Regions from separate parts of the Homo sapiens genome. Here all the other regions are linked to region 2. Evidence: promoter capture Hi-C in 16 types of primary human blood cells and fetal thymus (Javierre and others, 2016). All regions are on one chromosome and are shown on one strand. The core of a region is centred on a gene start or on the middle of the fragment in contact, and the rest is flanking DNA. Distances in the headings are between cores, read along the strand shown. Region 1 has its middle 15 kb from the start of IRAG1. Region 2 holds the start of RNF141 (ring finger protein 141). Region 3 overlaps IRAG1 (inositol 1,4,5-triphosphate receptor associated 1). Region 4 has its middle 20 kb from the start of CTR9. Region 5 overlaps CTR9 (CTR9 component of Paf1/RNA polymerase II complex).

Region 1 (5,519 bases), core at 2,511-5,010, 170 kb before region 2:
CTTAAGCCATGGAAAAGATGCTGGCTTTTCATACTGAGTGATGTGGGAAGCTATTAGAAGGTTATGAGCAGGGGCCGGATGCGGTGGCTGACGTCTGTAATCCCAGCTCTTTGGGAGGCCGAGACAGGCAGATCACTTGTGGTCAGGAGTTCGAGACCAGCCTGGCCAACGTGGTAAAATCCCATCTCTACTAAAAAATACAAAATATAGCCAGGTATGATGGTGGGTGCCTGTAATTCCACTTACTCGGGAGGCTGAGGCAGGAGAATTGCTTGAACCTAGGAGGCAGAGGTTGCAGTAAGCTGAGCTTGCGCCACTGCACTCCAGCCTGTGACAGAGTGAGACTCCATCTCAAAAAAAAAAAAAAAAAAGAAGTTTAGGAGCAGGGAGTGACATGATCTAACTCATAATGGAAAAGAATCAGGCCAGGCACATAATCCCAGCACTTTGTGAAGCTGAAGCAGGAGGAAACAACCATCTCTACTAAAAATATAAAAATTGGCCGGCCATGGTGGCACATGCCTATAGTCCCAGCTACTTGGGAGGCTGAGGTGGGAGGATCACTTGAGCCCAGGGAGGTTGAGGCTGCAGTGAACGTCACCATTGCACTCCAGCCTGGGCAACAGAGTGAGATCCTGTCTCAAAATAAATAAACAAATAAAAGAATCACTCTGCCTGCTCTGTGGGGGCAGGGGAGCACTTAGGAAGCAATTGTGTTGATTACGTGGCAAGAAATTGTGGTTGCTTACACTAGTAAAGATGGTAAGAAATGGTCAGATTCTGGATATATTTCTAAGGTAGAGCAAAAGGACTTTTTGATGAGTTCCCTGTGGGTTGCGTGGGGAACTGGAGGAAAATCACAAATGACTCATGTTTTGTGCCTGAGCTACTTGAAGGATGGACTTGCCATTGACTGAAATGGAGAAGACTGAGGGAAAAGCAGGTATTAGGGGTTGGACACGTGTTAGAAATGTCTATAAGATGCCCCGAAAATGTATTGAGTAAAATAGCACCTGGGCGTATGACTTTGGAGTTAAGGGAGAGGTCCAAGCTGGACATAAACGTTGGAGAGTTTTCGGAATACAGATGGTATTGAAAATCATGAGCTTGAATAACATCATCTTGAGAGTGAGGATAGAAAAGAATCTGGGTCTGGGGCCCAAGCCCTGGAGCTGCCAAGTGTTGCACATGAGAGAGATGAGGAACAGATACATCCTTCCTTCCCCCACTCCTCCTCCTCCTTCTTTTTCTTTCTTTAATTCGGTTAGCCTTCACTTGAACAAATCTGCTTACAAAGCTTCTTTTGGGTTTGCTCTTTAAAAGTAATATGTGCACTTTTTAACTTCAAAGACTTTTAAAAAGAAAAAAACACCCAACTCTGGGCTGTGGAAGAAGGCCTCGTGGTGCAGGCATTGAACCAGCAAGGCCAGTGCATCTGGAGATCAAGTTCCTTTTAGGATTAGTGAAATCGAGCTTTTGTTAGCATTCATCTAATGGTGGAATGTCAACGTGAAAACCTCAGAAATCCTTTTCTGCTCCACATCTCTTTCTTTTTTCCATTTAACAGAAAAACTATGTGAAGCCAGAAGGGAGAATCTGAGAAAGATTTGACTCTTCCTTAGTGAGATAAACAATCTGTTGTGTCATGGCACCAGCATAAAAATCCTGTGTTTGAAGAACAGGCTGAAACACAGTGTTTCTCAGGATAGTTTAGGAAAGGGCAAAGTAGGGATAGCTCAACTCCTGTGATAAAGATCTTAGGGTCTCAGTGGACCATAGATTTCCCATGAGCCAAGTAATGACATGGCTGATACAAGAGCAAACACAATCAAAGTAGTCTAGTGTACTGGCCATAGGAAATCAGAATCCCCTGAATAAAGAGGATGCTGGTTGGATGACACAAGCAGTCCACGATGCTATTCCAGGCATTGCATTATGAGAGGGACTTTGGCAAAGTGTGTGGTGTTCAGTGGAAGAGACCCGCATGGGACAGGTTTTAAACAAACAACAGGAGTTTGGCTTCAGCTGGAGCCTTGGGCATGCTGTAGTCACTGTCTTTAGATATTTGCCAGGGAATGAGGGAGATTGGTTCTGTATTACTCCTTAGAGAGAACTAAAGGAGAGAAAGTGACATAGAAGTTTTTATGGTTGGAATGGGCTTAACATAAAGGAATGAGCTCTCTCGCCCTTTCTCTCAAATGGAGGATAAGTTAATCAATAGTCAGGGATGCTGTAGAGCAAAGACTTTTAGGTGCGGGCCAGTGGATGAGCCTCAGGAGGTCTGTAAATCCCATGAAAGCACAGGCCAAATGGTATAGGCATGTGTGTATTTTTCTGGGGAGGAGATTCATAGCTTTTTGTCAGATTCTCAGAGTTATGGGACCCTAAAAATGTTAAGAAGGTCTGCCACAGCAAATACCTGTAAGCTGCAAGGTTTGAACCCTGTGGTCTCCTTAGACTAAGTTCAATGGTTTTAACTAGCTTGAATAACCCCCATTCCCTGGCTGAGTGGTTCTGTGGAAAGAACATTGACTTTGCAGTTGGACAGATTTCAATTTGAATTCTAGCTCAGCTACCTTCTACTTTTGTGACTGGGCAAATTGCTTAACTTCTCTTCAGTGTCTTCATTTGTAAAATAGGAATAATAAAATCAATCTCACTGGGCCATTAAATCACATAATGCAGGTCACCTGGCACAGTTCTTAGCTCATACCAGGAGCTTAGTAAATGCGAGGTCCTTTCCTCGCTCCTTTTCTCTAACATATTTTATTGCCTATCCCACCTACGGCCACCCTGTTTATCACGTGGTCCAAGATATGGCTATCTGGTCAGAGAGGGATATCTGCCTTAAAGGTAGCTAGTAACTTTGGAGACTTGGCTTAAACAGACAAACCAGGTCTTTTTTTTAATCTGAAACAGGAGATAGCTGTCAGAGGGTCGGGGCAGGAGAAGGCTAGAGCTGAGAGGCCATGATGGGCCATAGCAATGTGAGTGTGCAGAAAAAGCCGGAGAAGAGGTAGGAAGAGGAGGAGGAAGAGGAGGAGGAGGAGGAGGAGAAAATGGATTCTCAGAGAGAAGGGGGAGAGAGAGAGAGATTACATGGCCTGTGAGATCACATGGTGTGTGGGAGACAGGGACGCAGACATTCACACAGATTAACAGAGTAAGGGCTTCAGTTCCTGACAGCCCTCTGCTCCCTCAAGGTCTGGGTGTACTTAATTACCAGTCCTGGGTTCTGTGGGGGTTCAGTTATCATTGGCACAGGCCCCTTTAACACTTGAGCCAGCCAGAGTTGATTTCTGTTCTTTGCAACTCAAAGAATCCTGCACTCTCCCCATCAATTCTGCTATTGGGTCCAGCAGAGTCCGCTCACCCAGCTGGCCCAATCTGGAATCCCTTCCTCCTCCCTTGATTTTCCCTATTCAACTCAACACTCAAGGCCCCACTGAAGCTTCTCCCTCTGTCATGAAGCCATTCCTGACCACTCCGGGAGCCAGAGACCTCTTTTTCCCAGAAGCTCCGCTTCTACAGCTTCTGAGCTTCTACAGCTTTTGTAGCATTCCCAGCCCTGCCCCATCTTCGTATGGGCAGGCTGGGTAGAGGTTTCCTTGTGGGCAGAGTCCATACCTCATTTCATCCTTGCCTGGCCTGGTCTGTGCCTAGAACCAAGCAGAGCCCAGCAGGCAAGTAGCCATTGGCTCTATTCACTCAGACCCCAAACTGGCTGCACCTGGGCCTCTCCTCTTACTTAGCAAGGATGTGATTTCAATTCCTGTGTTCCCATGCTGTTTCTGGTGTTCTTGAGGTGTTCCCTCTGGTGTTCCCTATTGACTCATTTTCTCCATGCACAATTCAGCTCAGATCTCCCTTCAAAGACCTGGAACCTATCTCTCCATGCCCAGTAACTAGATTTTTTATTCTTCCCAGTTTAATTCAGCCAACATTTTCACTTAACATGTATTAGATGTTAAACTAGGCACTGGGGCTATTGCATCAGGAGGCAGTGTGAGCCACTGGTTTTGGGTGCTGGTTCTAGAATTTGACTAACTGAATTAAAATCTAAGCTTGCATTCTGACAGCTGTAACCTTGGTCAAATTACTTATCATCCCCAACCCTTAGTTTCCTCACCTTTAGAATGGGTTGATATTCATAACAACAACATGCCTGCCTTGTAGGGCTTTAGTGAGGATCGGATGAGATTATCCATATGAGGGGCTTAGCCCAGTGCCTGGCTCATAATAAATAATCAATACATCACTGTTGTCATTGCTGTTACTATTATTATTATAAAGATGCATTGCCTGGGTCCTTATCTTTGAGGACCTCACAACCAGGTAGAGGAGGCAGAAAAGCCCCAATATTAGGCCACTGACCATTGTCCATGTAAAATAATAATAATAATAATAATAATGAAAGAAAAAAAAATAAAGTTCTAACATCAGACGATAGGTGTGCAATACTGAGTTTCTCTTTGGTGTGCTCCAGCATTCTCATGGGCTACGAATGGGGTAAAGACAGGCTGAGATACTGATTCCTATCTGTTCTTTGAATGTATTGGTAGGGTGTGGGGCTACCACAATCCCCAGCTGACCACCTGCAGCCATGAACAGTCTTGTTCACTCACCCTTGTGAGCAGGTAGACAGCCATGGAAAGCTCTGCTGTAATGATGTGTGTGAGCACAGGGTGCAGGGGAGCTCAGAGGAGGGAACAAACTCATCTACCACACTTCTCCAAAGAGCAGTGCTGCCTGCTCTGAAATCCTCACCTGGCTTCCACCTCATTTCGGGACTTCTAGGTCTCCCTGGTATCACAGTTCATCTTACATATATGACAGTCCATGGTTGCTCAGCGAATGATGAAGTGACCCTCACAGCCTTCACCTCCATGACCTCACGAAACCCACCGGTCTACTGACAAGGCTTTCTAAGGTCTGATAGCTTGTTTGCAATCCTCATCTCCTGGGCTCCCTGCAGTACTCTACAGGCCACCTCCTCCTCTTTTCCATGTACTGACAGCAACTTCCTGTCTCTTGCCAGTTTTTTACTGGCTCCTCATTTTTTGGTCCTCTGTGTTGATTTTCCCCTTTCTCTCTTTCCAAGCCTTTATTATGTCCTCTCTCTCTCTCTTTCTCTGTCTTTCTGACTTTCTTCCCTTAGCTCTCTTTTCTCTTACACCCACCCTAATCAGTTTACAAAGGCCTGTGACTGAAAGCTCTCCTAGAAGTCCATACTTCTGAATTCGATGTCACCAGTCTGCACCTCTCTTAAGCCACAATCCTTGTCACTCTGCATTTCTAACCATTTGCTGGGCCTCTCCATCTGGGCCTCCCACCAGCATTTCAAACTGAACTCATATCATCCTTAACCAATGCACTCCTGCTCCTGGCTTCCTCAGGGCATTAACTTCTCTCTACCTGTCCAGAGATCAAAACTTTGGAGTCACTCACTCTGTTCTTCCCATTTCCCACAAGCAGTTAGGGCACAAGTTTCTTGAGTCTCTCTCTCATCTGCCCACCTC
Region 2 (4,886 bases), core at 946-3,445:
TGATATCTTAAAAATGCTCAGTCTTCTGATTCATGAACATAATGTATCTCTATTTATTTAGGTCTTCTTTAATTTCTCTTAACAATGTTTTTTATTTTATTTTAGATTCAGGGGGTACACGTGTAGTTTTGTTACATGGGTATATCGAACAATGCTGAGGTTTAGGCTTCTAATGATCCAGGTCACCCAAGTGGTGAACATAGTACCCAATAGTAGTTTTTTCTACCCTTTTGGAATCCCCAGTGTTTATTGTTCCCAACTTTGTGTCTGTGTACTCAACGTTTAGCTCCTACTTATAAGTGAGAACATGCGGTATTTGGTTTCCTGTTTCTGCATTATTTTGCTTAGGACAATGGCCTCCAGCTGTATTCATGTTGCTGCAAAAGATATGATCTAGTCCTTTTTGTGGTTGTATAGTATTCCATGGCGTATATGTACCACACTTTCTTTATCCAATCCACTATTGATAAGCACCTGGGTTGATTCCATGTCTTTGCTATTCCATAATATTTTATAGTTTTCAGTATACATGTCTTTCTCATCTTTGGTCAAATTTGTCCCAAATTTGCTGCTTTTTTTTTTTTTTTTTTTTTTGCTGATAAGAGATATTTAAAAATTTTCCATTTCTAATTGTTCATTGCTAGTATATAGAAATACAACTGATTTTTGTATATTTGATTTTGTATCTTGCAACTTTTGTAAACTCACTTATGAGTTCTAGCAGCTTTTTTGTAGTATTCCACAATTTTCTTATGCAAATAAATGCAGTGCTACAACTTCCTTTCCAACTTGGATGCCTTTTATATATTTGTCTTTTTTTATTTCATTGACCAGAACTTCCAATACAATGTTTAATTGAAGGCAATTTTTACAGAGTAATATTTCTAACTCCCAGGCCCGGATTAGGCTGAACTATGGAATCTTGTTGAATTTGATATCTTTTGGAATTTATTAAATCATTATTTATACTTCATTTTTAAGCTTTTTCCTTTTCCAGTGTTCAAATATTCATCAAATGTTCAAATATTGAACAAGTACCATGCTGGCTGTCAGGGAAATAATGGTGCACAAACAGGCATGGACCTAGCGCTAATGAAGTCTTACCGTACTACCGAGGCAGTTTAAAACAGGAATTAAAAACACAGGTTCAGGGTTCTGTCTGCTTGGGTTTGAATCTGGCTCTGCTCCTTAATGGTTGTTTGACCTTGGAAAAGTTAATCGACTTTTCTAAGCCTGTGTCTTAGTGAAGGTATTAATAATACCTACTCACAGGATTGCTGTGAAGATTAAACGAATTAATACCTTTAAAGTCCTTAAAATACGGTTTGACATATAGTAAATGGTCAAAGAGTATTATTATTAGAGGGAAGAATTAGCTCTTCACAAGGTGAATCTACAAGTGACTGGTGAAGGAGGGGTGTACAAACAAGAAACATAAAAACCAGTTTAACTGCTAAGCATAGAGGCAGCAGTGTCAGCTGTACCTGGGTTAAAATCCTTGCTCTGCTGTTTATTGTCTAGGCAACTTTGACCAGACGACTTAAACAAGAGCAATGCCCGTAAAGTGCCTAGTGCAGTATTTGGCACACAACAGATGCTTAAAAGACAGCAATTACTGATTCAGACGTCCCGCAGAGCAGTAATATCACTAACATGTGCTCATCATCATATCTATCATTTATCAAAGCTCAGGATTTTGAACCTTGTAATTACTTTTCATACATTCTCTTATGCTTAACAACTCGGCTAGGTGAACACAATCCATTGCCTCATAAAGAAACAAGATGACCTTTGTGTATCTATCATCAGTGGGGAGGCTGGAGGTCTGGGAAGTGGTACCTTGGAGCCCAACTGTTGACCAAACCAGGGCTCTCAGTGCGGCCTTGGTCGCCAGCGGGGCGCTCCACTTTCCGCTCCGGAGATGGCACCAGGAGAGATGGGAGTCTGCCAGGCTGTTTCCATGGCCACCTCATGAAGCCCCTGCTCCGGGAGCGTGACAGGCGAGACTCTCCTTCGCCGCCACCTCTCGTCTCAGATGACCATCTGGGCTCGAAAGCCCTCAGGAGCTGCGGAGCGCGGGTCGGTAGGGGCGCTGCAGAGGAAGGTTGGGCGCCGTCTCCCGGCAACGCGCGGGGGGCGGGGCTTTGCGTCACAGAGGTGCGACCGGGTCCCGGCCTGAGTCGCGGCCACCCGCAGGTCTGAGCTGTGGGCTGAGGCAGCGCAGCCGCTGCCGCAGGGTGCGCGATGCCTTGAACCTGGGGTGAGCTCCGCGGCGCTGTCCTTTCGTGTTTCCCTTGCTAGCTGCTCCAGGACTCTGGGTCTGGGAAGAGAAACCCCAGAGGGCCCTCCGCTGCCGAGCCAGGCTTCCGCGGGGAGACAGGCCTAGCCCCGCCGCCCTCCCCGGGCCTCGGATTGGGGCGTGGGGACGGCTGGGGAGGCCATTCTATTGACGCCCGTCTTCTGCCCGGCGGGTTCCAGTTGCCCGGGGTGGCGGTGGCTTGTCCCGCCTCGGGGTGGTTCTGAGGGACCCGGAGAGAGTTTTTCCTTCTCTATCCCAAAACGGTTGTTTGAATATTGCCGCCGGCTCAGTCATTCGGCCGCCGGACTTAGCTGTTGGTTAAATGTCCAGGTGCGCTTGAGGAGGGGCTGAGGCGGCGTAGCCAGAGCGAGCGCTAGGGTGGCCCGCGGGCTCGGTCTCCGCCGGGCTGGACACCCAAATAAGAAACCTTTTGCCTGGGACGATAGCTCAGAAATAGCCACGTCGATCTACTTAGCCAGCCCCACACTTATGAATTGGCTTAGGCTGCTACCCTTCCCAAAGGTCTTTCCTTGTCAAACTAGCTGCTACCTTGAGACCCGGCTAAGAAAAGAACGTTTTCTTGCTAATAATAAGAAGGTAGTGATTACACAGCAGGAGCAGAAGGCTTCTGTGTTAGCTTTTGAAATTATTCCTTCAGTTATTTGTCTCGGCGTTACAAAATGTGGATTTACGATTGTTATTGAAATCGATCCCTATGCCCCTTATTAAAGGTAGTGTACCTTTTATATTCTGACACTGTCCTATTTAGCGGTGCCAGCTAATTCAGTTCTTGCCTCTGGCATATATATAAAGCTGCTGGAACACTTTCAATTGTTTATAATTCTTACATCTTCAGCACGAATTTATTCGTTTTCACTCCCTTCTGCCCATTCTTCTTGCTATAAAATGACCTCTACCCATTCAGAATTTTGTCTGGGGGCATGAGCTGCCACCGGCCGACGATCCTAAATTAGTCACCTCCATGTCGAAGTCACCCGTCTGAGAAGTGATGCTTTCTGAATTCAGAGCTCAAAAATAGTATGGATTTTTATCCTTTTCTTTCACATTGCCTGACTTCAGTTTCTAGAACTTTTTCTCAAGAATATGACTATATGTTTCAAAAATTAATATTTGTCATTTGGTGTAAATGAACTTTATATTCGATGTGTGTAGCCTGATCCTTCTTGGTTCCCATCTAAATACAAACACGCTTTCCTTCCCAAAAAGGCAAGGGAGGTCCAGAGAGAATTCTTACAAGTCTAATATGCTTTTTCCAATATGAAATGCATTTAGTAAACACACTGTTACTGTGAGAAATCCATATTCTTAATCTCCTAGTACGGCACTCTATCCTTTTGTAGTTTCTCTCTCCTTCTCTCTCTAATATATATGTATGTATCTTTTTCTGATCAAGATCTTTGATTCTGGAACAGGCATTCTGGACTCTATAGTGACTCTGGCCTAATTATTTCACTATGTATCTATATTAACTTGTCTTGAAAAAAAAAAGTTGATATCTGTTTACAGATCTACAGTTTGAGTAAACAATGAGTAATAAAGTAAATAATATCCTTAGGGACCCAGTCAGTAGTACTTGGTATTTATTACTGATGTTAAAGTTGACTTGACAGTGAAAATCATTGATGTTTATTTCAATTAAATCCTTTTAGGTGAGGTTGATACAAAATTTGATGGAGAACTGGTTTCAGAGAGGTTTTTAAAATACTACAGTGCAGTACTTGTCATTTAGTCATTTTGGTGCATTTTCAGCCTTTTCCATTTTGCTTTAGTTATTTTATGAATGAATTATGGTTTAAATTTTTAGGAGTTTTTGAGCAGTTTTTTCGTTTTTGCTTTGCCAGTTACCCATGATGTAATTTTAATATTTTTATAAGGAATATTTGAACTTCCACAATTCATTTGTTAGAAAAATAAGTGATTCACTATGTACCACCCACTAGAGAATGTGGCATTTTTGGAATCCTTGATCTTGTGCATTTCAAAATAACAGTTCTTTATTTAGAAAATCCTTCAAATGCTTTTTGAAAGCATATTTTTATCTTGCAAAAAATGACTGTGTTATAGGTGGCACAATAATATGAGAGCTGCTAGTTCTTTGAGAAATCTTGACCAGAAATTCATCTTTTGTTGAATTCTGTGCCAGTGGTTTGCAAATTATGTTTCTATGCAATACCACTGTTGCATGGCCTAGGGGGGAGTATCTTGTTAAAATCAAATAGTAAATGTTTCCCAGTTTACATAAGCATTAATTTAATGACAGATTTTCACAGTTTTACATTTTCTTTCATACATATTTTTAACTTCTGCTTCTCTCCAACCTAGTACTAATAGATGACTGACCAAATTAACAAAAGTCAAAAGAATACTAAGTGAATAATAATAAAACAAAAACTGCCAATGGTATTTACTGCATTTATTCAGTAAACATCTATTGAGTGCTTGTGTATCTGCCAGAAGACAGACCATAGCTGCTGTCCTCAAGAAGCTCACTAGAGGGAAATGGCCAAGTGACTTAACGAATGTCATAGTATGATAGAAATATGTGCAGTCACCAAAGAGGGACACT
Region 3 (5,489 bases), core at 479-2,978, 150 kb before region 2:
CATTCTAATATAATCCTTTTTCCATATCATTAAAGATTCTCCAAAACATGATTTTTCAATGGTTTTATAACATAGAGTCATTTTAGCCGTGCAACAATTTAATCACTGTTCCTCTTCTTGGCATTTACAAATGTGATTTTTCTTTGGGGACTTTCTCAGTGGCACATGTGACATGATGGCTCTTCCATAGGTTTATAGCATTTGGAGACTCAGCTCTCAGAGGTGGGTTTGTGTGGTGTGGCCCAAGGTGTGAGCTTGTTCTGCAAGATGATCGTATGTGGGATACTGACCCAGCCTTAAACACACAACATCACATTGTAAGAACATTATTCCTTCTTAAGTTCTTTTTATTCCTTTGAATGAAGGAGAGAAAGCCTCTATTTGAGGTAGGTTGACCGACTGTCCAGGGTCAGCCGGGAATGAGAATTGCTGCAGGACTTCCAGTGCTAAAATTGGGACAGGTCCTGGACAAATTCAAAAGGTTGGTCACCCTCATTTAAGCCTCATATGCCTTCACCATCTTTCTGTTTGTTTCCCTTCTTAAAAAAATGAGAGCAGGCCTTAGCTAAGGTTTAATAACCGTTTTCATTTTATTTATTTTTATAACTCTATTTGTGGTAAGTGGTATTGCTTTTTCCATTTAAGGTAGGAATATAAAGTTTCCCTTTTAAATAAAAGTAATGACAATGGTAGCTAACACTTGGTGAGTGTGTACCGTGTGCTAGGCACTGTCCTAATGCTTTACCTGCAGTCGCTCATTCAGTCCTCACAGCAACCCTCTGAAGTAGTTACTGTCATTGTCCTCCTTATACAGATCAGGAAACTGGGGCACAGAGAGGGCAAGAAACTTGCCTAACAACACAAAGTTAGTAAATGGCCAACCGGGGTTTCAGTCTTGATTTTCTGGCCCATTGCTACTCAAATGAAAGAATATTAAGTAAATAAAGGCATAGGTAAAACACAGGCATGGGAAAAATTGTGAGCATAGTGTATAAATGAGTCAGGTCATTCCACCACGGCTTGGTGGAAATCGGGTTGTATGAACTTGGTGGAATCCAGGTATTGGTGAGTGCAGGGTGTTGGGGAAGTTGAGTCATCCCAGCAAAACCAACAGGAATTTAGGAACCAATGGGCTCAATGAGAGAGGCTGAGAGGGATGAGACTATACACTGCACACAGCCTGGCTCTAGGGGTGGGATGTGGTTCCCAGAGTGGCCACCAGGGAAGGGACACAGAGAGGCCACAGAGAGTTCTGTGGCTGATAAGCAAATCAAGAGGGTGTTTCCAGAGAGCCCAAGCTTCCTGGCTCATCAGGAGGAGAAGAAAGCCTGAAGACATTCTTGACTTTGCTCATACAGGTGTGGTGAAAATAACCCCGGGCTCTGAGTCAGGAGGTGGGCTCAGTGTTGGCCAGCTCTTCCCTTATTATCACAGTGGGGAGATGACATCTTGTAATGGAGGCAGCACAGTGTCCCTATGGAAAGTGTGGACCCTGGAGTGACCGTGTGGCTCCACCACTGACCAGCTGTATCCCTTGAGCTGCACCTAATCTGTTGGCGCTTCAGTTTCTTCTCCTGTAATATGGGTTCAGTATCCCTTACCAAAATGCTTGGGACCACAGGTGTTTCAGATTTCACTTTTTTTTTTTTTGGCCTTTGGAATATTTGCATCATATTTACCCAGTTCAGCATCCCAAATCCAAAAATCCAAAATCTGAAATGCTCCAGTGAGCATTTCCTTTGAGTGTCTTGCCAGTGGCCAGAAATTCTTGCATTTTGGAGCATTTTAGATTTCAGATTTTTCAGATTTGGAATGCTCGACCTGTAATGATAGTGTCCATTTTACAAAGTTAAATACCACCCCCCCCCAAAAAAAAGCAAAGCTAAATCCCTTAGCCCACTGTCTATTCTTAGCACTCGGTATACATTAGGTCTTATTATTTCTAGCCCCTGTCTGTTCCCCTCCAGAGATTCCATCAAGAAGACTTCTGCACTGGGTTTGAGGCTCTGACCATCCACAGTCCTGGGTCCTATTCTCAACTCCAAAAACACCGCAAGGAGAGTGGTGGACTTCCTCTCAAGAGGATTGGGCATCTGTGTCTGGTGAAGTCTTTAAGGAGGCCCAATAAATAACACCTCTTTCCTTCACTGAAGCTTTAAGGCTTGTTGGGAATTCAGAGACTAATATCACCCGTATGACTGATGAAGCTGGTGTTGGAAAGTGTTTGGATCAACAGGCAAGTAGGTTTTCTAATATTGCATTGAGCAGATTTATCCCCCAGCCCTAGGGGGTGCCCACTGGGGAAAGTAGGGCTCTTTAAATATTAAAGCTTGGAGAAACAGAGCAGAATGTGTGTCCCCTGAAAGCAGCTAATTCCCTAGAGAAACAGAAGAGGGAGGGCTGAGCTATTCATGCAGGTACTTCTCAGAACTCACCATCAGATAGCCATTCTCTTGGTGTGGAAGAGCGTGGCACTCTGGGGTACCACTATGAGGGCCTGGCTAAAGCCCACTTGCAAGGCTGGTCTCCCATGGGCACCTGGCAAGACTTGTGTCCTGCCCTAGTGAGAGACAGGCAGGGCCGAGGCTGCAGGGGTTGCCACATGGTCCCATGGGCACCCCCTCTCCTCCCTTTTCCAGTTAATCAATCCTCATCTTTTCTCCAGAGATGCCTGGTGGGGAACTTGTTTAATGCAGAGTCCTTCCTTAGACAAGGCAAGCATCTGACTAGAAGTTTCTGCGGCGATGAATTTTCCTTTTTTCACAGAAGTTTCATTTAGGCAACTCCAGACAGGGAGCAAGTGATCTCTTAACTCCTTTCTTCTGGGTTACTTCTTACAGATAGATGAGAAAATATATGGGAAAGGAACTACCATTGTTTGAGCAAGTTTGTATGTGCCAGGCACATTTTATACAATATCTCATCAAATCTGTACTTTAGCCATGCAAGGGAGGTATTTGTGAACAAACTGATTCAAGGAGGATAGTAACTAGTATGAGAAGAATGAGAGTCAAACCAAAACCATCAGACCACCAAGCCCCATCTCTTTCCATCTCTCTGTGGCCTATAGACCTGGCTGCAGGACAGAGTGATAATGCCTGACCCTTTGTTCCTGCCCCTATAAGAACAAAGCCCTGGAGGTCCCAGTGCTGCTGCTCAGAGCTGAGGTCCTGAGCTCTCGGGGCAGGGCACTGGAGCAGCTTCCCCACTAGGCTTGCTCTACTTTGCACTTCTCTTGGTTTCTTTCAGTATGTAATGATCTTTATCAGGTCTCCTAGTCTTGTTTATGAACAAGTTCCTTCCTCTATTTAGAAGGAAAAATACAAATTTAGAATCACAAGCTTTTTACTGGCAAGAAATGCCATGTCCTACATTGTGTGTCTTGAGTCACTTTCTATGGCTCTCCAAAGTTTGTGCCCTAAAAGTCTGTAAATGTTGCCGAGGTCACCCAGTCTGTTCAAATCCCAGCCCCACAACTTACTGTTTGACGTGGGCGAATGATCTAACCTCTGAGTCCCCTTACCTATGAAATGGATTGCTAGATCTAAAGTACTTATACCTGAATAAGTACCCAATAAGTAATTATTATTATTGAAGCCCAGATTAATATTGAGCACATGGGAGTCCTCTATTTTGGATGCCCCCAAATGGTCAGGTTTCCCCAAGGACTCTCTTGTCATATTTTTGACTTGTATGGGTATGGTAGAAAGAATGTAATGTCTTCCTGGGCTTCTTACCTAAGACATCTTTCTTGTTTCCCACCTGAGATCTAACTGGTCCCCGTTGTAGTTTGGAAGGCAATGATGATAAGGCTAGGTGTTGTCAAGATAAACCTGGCTAGTTGGCTTCTAAGAGACTTCCCCAAGGAGCATCACCTTGGGGATGTTCTAGAGTCCTGGACCTATCCCTAAGCCTGGTTAGTGACCTGGAATTGATTAGTTGATTGCTTATGTAGAGACTGACTCACAATAATCAAACTCACAAGAGACTGAAGTATACAATTTTTTTTTTTTTTTTTCAAGAGAGGCAGGGTCTCACTCTGACCCCTGGGCTGGAGTGCAGTGGTATAGTCACAGCTGACTTGCAGGCTTGACCTCCCTGGCTCAAGTGATCCTCCCACCTCAGCCTCCCAAGTAGCTAGGACTACAGGCATATACTACCTCACCTGGCTAATGTTTTAAACGTTTTTTTGTTTTAGAGACAGGGTCTTGCTATGTTGCCCATGCTGGTCTCAAACTCCTGGACTCAAGTGATACTCTTGCCTCAGCCTGCTAAAGCACTGAGATTACTAAAGTATACAATTCTTTTAATTCTTTTTTTTTTTTTTTGGGAACGGAATCTTGCTGCATCACCCACGCTGAAGTACAGTGGTGCGATCTCGGCTCACTGCAACCTCTGCCTCCCAAGTAGCTGGGATTACAGGCATGCGCCACCATGCCCAGATAATTTTTTGCATTTTTAGTAGAGACAGGGTTTCACCATGTTGGCCATTCTGGTCTCGAACTCCTAACCTCAAGTGATCCACCTGCCTCAGCCTCCTTTCAAAGTGCTGGGATTACAGGTGTAAGCCACTGCACCCAGCCAAGTATGCAATTCTGAATGTCTATGTGCCAGTATATGATAGGAGACAAACCCTTTCCAATGACCAAAATGCTTGATAGATAGAGATTTAGGTAAGAAGGCAGAAAGTTCTGAGGGGTGGGTCACCTAAGCTATGATGTGGCCTGATGAGCCACCTCTGCCTACAGCAGAGAGACTCTTCCAGAGCTCAGGAAGGGCCTCTTTCCTCTGGGAAGTTTGGACAAGCCTTTCTCTTTGCTGTAGAAAAATGCTCTATAAAATGGTAGTTATTATGTGATATTCACATAGTCTGTCCCAGCACACAAGAAATTGCAGATCCCACCTATATATTGGTTAAAGTTCTTTGATTGCCAGATCTCAGAAGGCTATGTTGGCTAACTTAAGAGAAAGTAGGATTTATTATAAGGTATTTGAGAAAATCAAAGGAAAAGGTAGGTAGCCAGCAATGCCTCAGGAAGGCAGGACCCAGGGCAGCTTTCAGATCCCAGCAGCAGGAACTTGCCAGCCTTTTCTCTTTATTATTATTATTATTATTATTATTATTATTATTATTATTATTATACTTTAAGTTTTAGGGTACATGTGTACAATATGCAGGTTAGTTACATATGTATACATGTGCCATGCTGGTGTGCTGCACCCATTAACTCGTCATTTAGCATTAGGTATATCTCCTAATGCTCTCCCTCCCCGCTCTCCCCACCCCACAACAGTCCCCAGAGTGTGATGTTCCCCTTCCTGTGTCCATGTGTTCTCATTGTTCAATTCCCATCTATGAGTGAGAAGATGCAGTGTTTGGTTTTTTGTCCTTGCAATAGTTTACTGAGAATGATGATTTCCAGTTTCATCCATGTCCCTACAAAGGACATGAACTCATCATTTTTTAAGGCTGCATAGTATTCCATGGT
Region 4 (5,017 bases), core at 234-2,733, 190 kb before region 2:
ACTGCTCCTTCCTCCCCCTCCTTTGTCCTCTTGGTCCTCAAAGTAACCGCATGCACCTGACACAGTTCTTGGAGCCTTATGCATATAACAGAGAAGAAGAAAATAGTATTTAAAACCATGGCCCACTGTAGCCGCTTTGCCTTAAAAAGGAAAGTGACACAATTGAAATCTGTAACAAATCTCTAAATAGATCTTGTTCCTTGCAGAGGCCAAGATGAGATTCCAGCCAATGTTTGGAAATTTCAAAGAGCAGGAAACCTAGGCTGACATGGTGGCTCTCAGGGCACAGGATTATTATTTATATATATAATATATTCAATTATATCAGTATATATTATATATATTTAAATGTATTCATTTAATGAGTGAATTAAGCACCCTAAAAAGTGAGCATTGCTTTCCCCATTTTACAGATTATGAATGAGGCTCAGAGACAGAATCACCCACTCAGCTACAAAGGGGTGGAACTGGGCTTCCAAGCCAGGGCTTCTTGGCTCTAAAGTTTGTGGTTGCCCTTCCAGAACAGAATGCCATTTGCCACCCCCATAGCGGCCTCCTGCCTGTGATTTGGTCTAGGTGGGCTTCTCGGGAAGGGACATGTTAAAGAGGTAGAAGGCAAGTTTTATTTGTATGTTTACTTAACTTCTCATGTTTAGTTAAACTTTCATGGGAGTGACAGAGGGGGGATGGGGAGAATAGAGAAACTCTTTTTTTTCTGAGACAGAGTCTCACTGTGTTGCCCAGGCTGGAGTGCAGTGGCACGATCTTGGCTCACTGCAACCTCCACCTCTGGGGTTCAGGTGATTCTTGTGCTTCAGCCTCCCGAGTAGCTGAGACTACAGGTGCAAGCCGCCACCCAGCTAATTTTGTATTTAGTAGAGATGGGGTTTTGCCATGTTGGCCAGGCTGGTCTGGAACTCCTGGGCTCAGGTCATCTGCCCACCTCTGCCTCCCAAAGTGCTGGGATTACAGGCGTGAGCCACTGCACCTGGCAGAGAAACTCTTATACCAGGATTCTGATCATGGTAGGAAGGAGAAGCCCAGTGGGCCTTGGAAAGTCAAACTCTGCTGGGGAGGCAGTGTGGCATAGTGCTGGGCACACAGGCTTAGAGCCCAGCTAGACTGAATTCAAGTCCCAGGGCCACGGTGTATTAACCGTGATCTCACACAAGTTAATAAACCTATTAAGACTTGAGTTTCTATTAACCTATTAACTTAATAGGTTAATAAACCTATTAAGACCTTAAAAATGAGACCTACCTCCTAAGGTCTTTGAGGAAATCAAACCAAAAACCACAAGTAAAGCACTTAGCATAGTGCCTAGCATCCCTCAAATGATAGCTGTCATCATACACATTAAAATACATAGTGCTTGGAAGATTCGGAGGCATTCTAAAATCCCCTCCTGGTAAACGTTGCCATGCTCATATACTACGCCATACTGAGAGGGCACGGGAAAGCAGCTCATGCACAGTGCTTTTTTCTGTTTTTGGCGCTTGGGAGCAAGCTGGTGGGAAGTGCGGTGGGCTTCGACTCGGACTACCTCTGTCATTGTCTATTGGTATGAAAGGAGAAGGACCTGCTGACTATACAAAAGACCAGTATCCATCATGGAGACATGAGGACAGAGGGATTGAAATATATTTGGTTTTTCGGTGCCAGGAAGCCTGGCACAGAAGAGCTGGTTCTCAGAGATCCGGGTGCCCCCTATCTCTGACATCTGGCCCAGAAATCAAGCTGGAGGAGGTAGGAAATCTGATCACCATGCTTGGCCAGGACCTGTTCAGAGATTGTCAAGGCTGGGATAGGGGTGCAGGTCAGGTCTGCCCTGGGAGCTGGCTAGAAGGAAGGTGAGGCAGGCAAGGCACTCGGGGCACAGCATTTGAAGAGACACTCACTCTCAGGTGCTGACCCTGCACTTGCATGGGCCAGAGAAGGAGTGTCTTCTTCAATTCTGTGTCCTGGGTACCCCCCCTTGACTCCCTAGCTAGCAGGGAGAGAGAGAGAGAGAAAGAGAGAGAGAGAGAGAAGATGCAAGGAAGATGAAAGTCATAGTCCTTTATAGCCTAATCTCAGAAGTGACACCCCATCACTTTAGTCCTATTATGTTAGAAGCAACTCACTCTGTACAGTACACACACACACACACACACACACACACACACACACATGAGGGGACACACCAAGATGTGACTGTAACTGCCTATTGGGTTCTCCTTGCCTGCTGCCTAGACAGAGCCAATTTATCAAGACAGGGAAATTGCAATAGAGAAAGAGTTTAATTCACACAGAGTCAGCTGTGTGGGAGACCAGAGTTTTATTATTACTCAAAGCTGTCTCCCTGAAAACTCGAGGATTGGGGTTCTTAATGATAATTTGCCGAGTAGGGTGTCGGGAAGTGGGGAGTGCTGATTGGTCAGGTGGGATATGAAGTCATAGGGAGTTGAAGCTGTCCTCTTGCACTGAGTCAGTTCCTGGGTAGGGGCCACATGACTGGATGAGCCAGTTTATCAATCTGGGTGGTACCAGCTCATCCTTTGAGGGCAGGGTCTGCAAAATATCTCAAACACTGATCTTAGGCTTTACAATAGTGATGTTAGCCCCAGGATGCAATTTGGGAAGGTTCAGAATCTTACAGCCTCCAGCTGCATGACTCCTAAACCACAATTTCTAATCTTGTGGCAAATTTGTTAGTCCTGCAAAGGCAGTCTAGTTCCCAGGCAGGAAGGGGGTTTGTTTTGGGAAAGGGCTGTTATCATCTTTATTTCAAAGTTAAACTATAAACTGACTTCCTCCCAAAGTTAGTTCGGCCTGTGCCCAGGAATGAACACGGACAGCTTGGAGGTTAGAAGCAAGATGGAGTCAGTTAGGTCAGATCTCTTTCACTGTCATAAATTTCTCAGTTAAAATTTTTGCAAAGGCGGTTTCATGACTATCCAGATCATCAAGACCATTTCAGAAGTGGCCTACCACAGGAAGGGAGTAGAGGCAAACAATTGGGATTTACTGAGGTCTAAACATGTATGAGGGCATCTCATAATTATCCCATTAGGTTCTTTTTTTTTTTCGAGGTGTTTTACTCTTGTTGCCCAGGCTGGAGTGCAGTGGGAAGATCTCAGCTCTCTGCATCCTCCACCTCCCCACCTCCTGGGTTGGGCTCAAGCGATTCTCCTGCCTCAGCCTCACAAGTAGCTGGGATTACAGGTGTCCGCCACCACACCTGGCTAATTTTTGTATTTTTAGTAGAGATGGGGTTTCACCATATTGGCCAGGTTGGTCTCGAACTCCTGACCTCAAATAATCTGCCCACCTTGGCTTCCCAAAGTGCTGGGATTACAGGCATGAGCCACCGCGCCTGGCCCCATTAGGTTCTCATGTTAGGCTTGTGAAGAGACCGGCCTCTGTTATTCTCTGCACAAAAGAACATCGAGGAAGGTTCTGAGGAATTGAAGCCCACTTGGGAGGCCCATATACGTCTGAGGAAGACAAGTCTGACTTCTCTGAGAAACTACAAGTGGGGGCCCTGAGGTTGGAGCTCAGAGATTAGTCAAGTTTGTAGCATGGTTGGCAACTGACAGACAAGCCGACTTCAAACCCAAAGCCACTGCTTGAGTGGGGAAGGTGGAGACTACTCTCTTGTGATGAAATGTGTGGGGGACAAAAATGAGGCTGCAGGACAGCTCTGCAGAGGCTGAGGTTGGGATTGGAGTTATGAAGCCACTGCACACCCATGTTCCTGAATCATCCATGATGTTGTAAGAAACAGCCACAAGCTCCTACCAGAAGAAGTCCTCTGAGAAGCTGCCTCTATGCTTCTGGAAGGGTGTCAGTGGGCATGCCAGCCCAGCAGAGTGTCACCCTGATGGCTGCCTCAGACAGAAGCTGGAAGACGAGGTGGGTCCTGAGACGATCAGGATGGTCAGAATAGGAGGAACTTGTGCACAGAGGACAGCAAAGTGGGGACCGTGTGGAACTTTTGGAATTCCTAATAGATGGATCTATAAGCTAAGCTACCTTTCCTTAGCTTGTACGATTTTTGGAGTTTCCCCTACTGTCCTGGGATGCAGCTGTATTGATGTGACTGGAGGAAAGGTGACATCCTCTGTATGGGCTGGGTGTGGTGGCTCATGTTTGTAATCCCAGTGCTTTAGGGGGGCCAAGGTGGGAGGATCACTTAAGCCCAGGAGTTTCAGACCAGCCTGAGCAACATTATGAGACCCTATCTTTACAAGTAATTTAAAAATTAGCTGGGCATGATGGTGTGCACCTGTGGTCCCAGCTTCTCAGGATGCTAAGGTGGGAGGATCGCTTGAGCCTGAGAAATTGAGGCTGCAGTGAGCTGTGATCGTGCTGCTGCACTCCAGCCTGGGTAACAGAGCAAGACCCTGTCTCAAAAAAATAAAAAACAAAAAAAAAACAAAACCCGCAAAAAAACCTTATTCTCTGTAAGCCTTAGTTCCCATATCTTTAATGTGGTGATAAGGCCTACTCATCGTGTTATAGGAATTGAGGGATATAAGTTACGTCGTTTACAGTAGGTGCCTAATAAAAGCGAATTCTCTTCTCCCCCCCACCTTCTTCCTCTCTCCCCCCATTCAAAATGATATGGTGTGGTTTATCTGTACACAGTAGATTGACACTCAACCTTTATTACGTCTGCCTTCTAGTGAACTCTCCGGTAGTGCGAAGGCTGGAAAGCTAAAAACTACGTTTCCCAGATTCCCATGCGGTCAGGGGTCCGAGGGCGTTAAGGCTCAGCGAATCAGACGCACTGTGTGAGATTTGGGCGGAAGCCAACGAAGACCCTTGCCTGCTGCTCCCGCTGTTTCTGCGGGCACTGCCGTGAGGGGACTGGCACTGCAGCCCTGTCACCGTCCTCATGACGTTGGGAGGCGAGGGGCATCCATTCTGCTGGGGGCCGGTCCTGGTCAGAGGCGACCTAGCAGCCCCCTTATTGGCACGTGACCCAGGTTTCATTTGGGTAAGCCTTGCTGAAATCTCAACTTAAAGTCTCTTC
Region 5 (5,373 bases), core at 2,874-5,373, 210 kb before region 2:
TGGCCTCCTTACTCTTCCTTAAACTTACCAGGCACTCTCTTTCCTCTGGACCTTTGTACCTTCTATGCTCTCTCTCTAGGAGTGGTCTTCTCCTATATATCTGCATGGCTGCTAGTTGTTTTTTAGGTCTTCACACAAATGTCACTATCTCTGATGAGTTTCCTTGGTCATCCTTTCTAAGCAATTCCTGATGCTTCTCATACCCTTTTTCTGCTTTATTCTTCTCCTTGGCTCTTACTGGTAGCTTACACATCATACATACTTTACTATTTATCTTGCCCACTGAAAACTGGACTCCATGAGGGCAGGAACTTTTGTCTCTTTGGTTAATTGCTACATTCTCAGGGTTTAGAACACTGCCTGCCACATAGTTGGTACTCAGTAAAAATTTGCTACATGAATGACATTTTGGAAAGAAAAATAGTATAGGGCAAAAAGATTATATTATAATCTACTATCCAGACTTTTTTTTTCTTGAGACAGGGTCTTGGCTCTGTTGCCCAGGCTGGAGTGCCGTGGCATGAACATGGCTCACTGCAGCCTCAAATGCCTAGGCTCAAGTGATCTTCCTGCCTAGCCTCTTGTGTAGGTGCGACCACAAGCACTACCATGTGCGGCTGATTTTCTGTAGAGATGGGGGTCTCCCTTTGTTGCAAAGGCTAGTCTCAAATTCCTGGGCTCAAGCAATCCTTCTACCTCACCCTCCCAAAGTGCTGAGATTACAGGTGTGAACCAGTGCAGCCAGACCCTATCTATTTTTTTTTCCCCTTGAGACAAGGTCTTGTTCTGTTGCCCAGGCTGGAATGCAATGGCACAATGATGGCTCACTGCAGCCTCAACCTCCCAGACTCAAGCGATCCTCCAGCCTGAGCCTCCTAAGGAGCTGGGACCACAGGTGTGTGCCACCATGCTCATGTAACTTTTTTATTTTTTGTAGAGACAGGGTCTTACTACGTTGCCCAGGCTGGTCTCAAACTCCTGGGCTCAAGTAGTCCTGCCTCTGCCTACCAAAGTGCTGGGATTATTGGCATGAGCCATTGCACCTGGCCTTACTATCCAGCTTTTGACTCAAACATAGCATCAAAAAAAAAACTTGATTCTGACATTTCTATAATCCAACAATATCTTTTCATAACTTCATAAGCAACTGACAAATCCTCAATGCTTTAAGCTGGGTAATACACAGTTTAGACATAAAATAAAATTTTTCTCTTACCTGGACATCCTGGGTTAGTACGCAATGCTTTCTTATAGTAAGCAAGAGCTCCTCTGTAATCCTTCTTGTTGAAGGAAATGCAAGCTTTACCTGTAATGATTTTTAAAAATAAACACAGTGTCTGATTAAAGGCTACAAGTCTATTATGTTTTACACTAACTTATCTAAGTTAAATACATCTCTGAGTGAGAAATACTTGAAAACACAGAACAAAATTTCATATTAAAAATTTGTTTTTCATAAAAGTATACTAATTTATGTCTAAAAATAAAACTTCCTATTTTTATGTTAAATGTTATAAAGTTAGCAAACTAACATAGGAACAGAAAACTGAATACTGCCTGTTCTCACTTATAAGTGGGAGCTAAATGATGAGAACACATGGACACAGAGGGGAACATCACATACTGGGGCCTTTTGGAGGGTGGAGGGTGGGAGGAGGAAGAGGATCAGGAAAAATAACTAATAGGTACTAGGCTTAATACCTAAGTGATGAAATAACCTGCACAACAAACCCCCATGACCAAGTTTACCTATGTAACAAACCTGCACTTGTACCACTGAACTTCAATAAAAGTTTAAAAAATGTTATAAAGTAATAATTGAAATAACTTTAAGTTGTCTAAGTAGAGATTGTTTATTGGCTCTTCAGAAGTGTATAACCAATTACTCTTTTTTGAAAAAATTATTTTTTGTAGAGATGGGGTCTTGCTATGTTGCCCCAGCTCGTCTTGAACTCCTGGCCTCAAGTGATCCTCCTGCCTCAGTCTCTCAAAGCGCTGGGATTACAGGTATAACGAGACAGGGTCTCAAAGTGCTGAGATTATACCATGCCTGGCCTAAATAATAAATTATTCTTAACTGGTATATATTTTATTTCTACAATTTCAACAATATTTGTTGTAGGTAATTTCATTTGTAACAACATAAAGCTCTTCTACTTTGCTGTCTAGCTGAGTTATTAAGGAGCTATTACCAAGAGATATATTCTAGGCATATGCTGAAAACAACTGTTTCCTAACATGTTGCCAAAGACCACTTACCAAGAAGGGCTGGAATATTATTTGGAGACTGATTGAGTACAAAATGAAACTGTGCATCAGCTTGATCCATTTTGTCACCCTCAAGTAGGCAGAAGCAGGCTCTTCCCAACAAATGGTTCTATGAAGTAATGTATTATCTTAGATTTTACCCCTATATACCATGAACATGTAACACTAAAGTGAAAACCAAATAGGAAGGAGGTGGAGCACAGTGCAAATTCCCCTATCAAATGTAACGTGCTTAAGCTACTAACAAGCAATTCTTAATTACAAAATAAGAAATTATCCTGAAATGTAAGTCTTCTGTGCCAATAACAACAACCAAAAGAAAAATTTAAATTCCTTAAAATATCCTTGAAATTCACCTGGAGATAATAAAATTACTGGAGCAAGTTTTATGTACTACATTTGTCCATATTACTTAAACAGTACAAAAACCAAAGCATTCCGATTTTAATGAGGAACCTTTCTTCTTTTTGACTCTATCAACCATGTTACTTGAAGAAAAACTCTTTCAAAAAATCTGCTATCACACACATTTTGCTTTCATGTGCTTTTCTCCCTTCATAAATGGAAAGAAATTTGACTTTATTTTTACCTGATCATACATAATAATTTTATCGGCCATTGTATACAACAAGGTGGCCTGTGTAATAAGATCCTTTTTATTGTCCTTATTCTTTTCTTTCCGAGCCTGTTGTACATAATACGCTGCCAATGTATCCAAGCAAGTCATCTGGTCTTTTTCATGGTCTCTATAGTCCAAATTGCCATCTATACGTGCTGCTTCCAACAATTTTACAAACTCTTCTGTTTTTCCTTGCTTGTAGTATTCCAGCTATAAGGTAATGAAACAAATTAGAATCACTAAAGCATATGTCCATATAAAAAGTTGTACACAAATGTTTACAGCAGCTTTATTTGTAATAACAAAAAACTGGAAACAATCAAAATGTTGATTAACAGGTGAATGGATAAACAAGCTGTGGTGTATCCATAAAATGGATACTATCCTACAATGAAAAGGAATGAACTACTGATACATGCTACAACATGGATAAATCTCAAAATAATTATGCTGAATGAAAGAAATCAGACCAAAAAAAGAGTACATATTGTGTGATTCCATTTATATAAAACTCTAGAAAATGTAAAACAATCTCTAGTGTCAAAAAGCAGACCAGTGGTTGTCTGGCACAGGGATTAGGGGTGGGGTGGGGGACTTGTGGGGAGTGGTACAGAGGACACTTTCAGAAGGTGATGAATGTATTCATTAATCTTGATTGTGGTGATGGTTTCACAGGTATATACAGATGATAAAACTTATCAAATGGTAAATGTCAAATATGTGCAGTTTATTATAAATCCATTAGACTTTAATAAAACTGTTTAAAAAACTGGAATCATTCACAATGTTCCCAATCTGCTGCTTATCTAGTTGATTTCTAACTAAAATTTTCAGATAAGTAGAGCCTAAGAGAGAAAACAATAGTGAAAGATATGAAGAATTCTAAATAGAAAACTTGGGTTCTGGTTCTAGATCTACCAAAAATTATCTGTGATTTGGGCCTGTTTAACAACTTCTCTAGGCATCTGTTTGACTTATAAATAATAAAAGAAATATCCACTAGGTGTGGTGGTATGTACCTGTAATCTACTACTTGGGATGCTGTAGTGGCAGGATGGCTTGAGCCCAGGAGTTTGAGTCTAGCCTGGGCAAAATAGAGAGACTCTGTCTCTATGTGGAATATCCACCACTTATTAACCACTGACTATTGGTCACATACCATGAAAGGAATTTCATACACATATTCTCTAATCTGTACAACCACTCTATGAGGTAGATGCTAACATCTCTATATTTTAAATGAGGACATATGCTCAGAAGTTAGATCATTTGTCTAAGGTCACATAGCTAGTTAGCAGCCATGCCGGGACTTGATCTAACCCCAAAGCCTACATTCTTTTCCCTGTAAAAATCTATATCCCACAATGTGTCATTAATTTATTCTACTACAGGTGCCATGCTAATCCTCCAATATTCTAATTTTTGTTTAAGTGCTGTTAAGGAGGGCATATGTACTTAAAAATATATATATATATAATATATATTATATATACATCTAAATTACCATCTGGTTTTAAAAAAAATGTGTGTGACAAGGAGGCTTGGTCTCCATGGAATAAGAAAAGTTGGCACTTCAAGTCAAGAAGGCACTGCTTGTCACTGAAAATACTTCTCTGTAAATCCACATCTAAAAGGAAGAAACTCTTAGAGCAGTCTTGAGCACTGGATATAAGCCCAATTCCAGACCTATTTCTCTGACTCTTCAAGACAATATTAGGAGCCTCTTCTGTATGTTTGTATGAAAGCAATGTGGCATATCTACTTAGGAATAATGACTGTAACATTTATATTACCTATTCCTATAAAAAGAAAACATCATTATGCAGCTGATGCTGGCAAGTAGAGGATATAGAATTTTAGGGTTTCTGATTGGATTTTCTTGAGAATCTCCAGTAAGATTCACATTGAAGGAGACTAAATAGGACAAAAAACATAAGTCTGAGATAAACTTCACCCAAAAGAACTTTTGTGATTTTGGGTGAAGTGATTTTCCCAGAACCTAATCACATTCTAGAATATTTTAAGGGAAGTGTTTTGTTGTTATAGGAAACAATGTTAAGCAGCAATGTTCACACAGAAGCACTTCGCTTCTTTTCAGCTTATCTATAAACCATAAGCCAGCCTTCACTGAACAAGCACTAAATAATAAAATATTCAATATAGAGTACTACTTAAATGAATTTTGCCTTTACCAACATATACTAATTCACCAGTAGAGCAGCATATCATTTAGGAAAACGGCCTTATTGTTCCATAAATTATTAACACAATTAACTTCCATACACATGGTATAACTAATCTACCATGCAGCCAAGCTGGCTATTACTATATCTGAAAACAGAAACTACATATTTTCCTAGTCAACAAATAAAAAATATTTGCTACATGAATACTGACCGCCAAAGCAATCCATATGTGCAGTTGTGTGTGTTCCTGTTTCAGAATACTGATAACTTCATCTCCCTCCGGTAACTGATCGAAGTCAA

Evidence for each region. Contacts are between HindIII fragments. The CHiCAGO score rates a contact against its expected background, and 5 or more counts as called.
Region 1: a contact is called between a fragment that was not itself captured here and the fragment with the promoter of RNF141 in region 2, in 1 of 17 cell types (M1 macrophages). The highest score is 5.3, in M1 macrophages.
Region 3: a contact is called between a fragment that was not itself captured here and the fragment with the promoter of RNF141 in region 2, in 1 of 17 cell types (naive B cells). The highest score is 5.1, in naive B cells.
Region 4: a contact is called between a fragment that was not itself captured here and the fragment with the promoter of RNF141 in region 2, in 15 of 17 cell types (monocytes, naive B cells, total B cells and 12 more). The highest score is 17.0, in monocytes.
Region 5: a fragment that was not itself captured here is called in contact with the fragment with the promoter of RNF141 in region 2 in 2 of 17 cell types (total B cells and naive CD4 T cells); the score reaches 5.9 in total B cells.

Annotation. Positions count from the first base shown.
Region 1 is chr11:10,705,906-10,711,424 of GRCh38, reverse strand. No RefSeq gene overlaps it. Among named protein-coding and RNA genes, the nearest start is that of IRAG1, 15 kb to the right of the region's middle. The HindIII fragment of the contact is 613 bases long and covers 3,454-4,066 here.
Region 2 is chr11:10,538,496-10,543,381 of GRCh38, reverse strand. It overlaps RNF141 (ring finger protein 141), which reads left to right and starts at 2,195. Exons shown (of 6, transcript NM_016422.4): 1 at 2,195-2,260. It overlaps IRAG1-AS1 (IRAG1 antisense RNA 1), which reads right to left and starts at 2,146. Exons shown (of 4, transcript NR_046375.1): 1 at 1,840-2,146. RefSeq lists an enhancer at 2,010-2,119. The HindIII fragment of the contact is 4,708 bases long and covers 984-4,886 here.
Region 3 is chr11:10,684,256-10,689,744 of GRCh38, reverse strand. The region is part of intron 1 of IRAG1 (inositol 1,4,5-triphosphate receptor associated 1); the gene reads left to right. Among named protein-coding and RNA genes, the nearest start is that of IRAG1, 6.8 kb to the left of the region's middle. RefSeq lists an enhancer at 1,284-1,333. The HindIII fragment of the contact is 855 bases long and covers 1,301-2,155 here.
Region 4 is chr11:10,729,095-10,734,111 of GRCh38, reverse strand. No RefSeq gene overlaps it. Among named protein-coding and RNA genes, the nearest start is that of CTR9, 20 kb to the left of the region's middle. The HindIII fragment of the contact is 7,606 bases long and covers 1-5,017 here.
Region 5 is chr11:10,752,682-10,758,054 of GRCh38, reverse strand. It overlaps CTR9 (CTR9 component of Paf1/RNA polymerase II complex), which reads right to left. Exons shown (of 25, transcript NM_014633.5): 2 at 5,285-5,373; 3 at 2,858-3,097; 4 at 2,260-2,377; 5 at 1,217-1,306. Among named protein-coding and RNA genes, the nearest start is that of CTR9, 4.1 kb to the right of the region's middle. The HindIII fragment of the contact is 5,641 bases long and covers 1,303-5,373 here.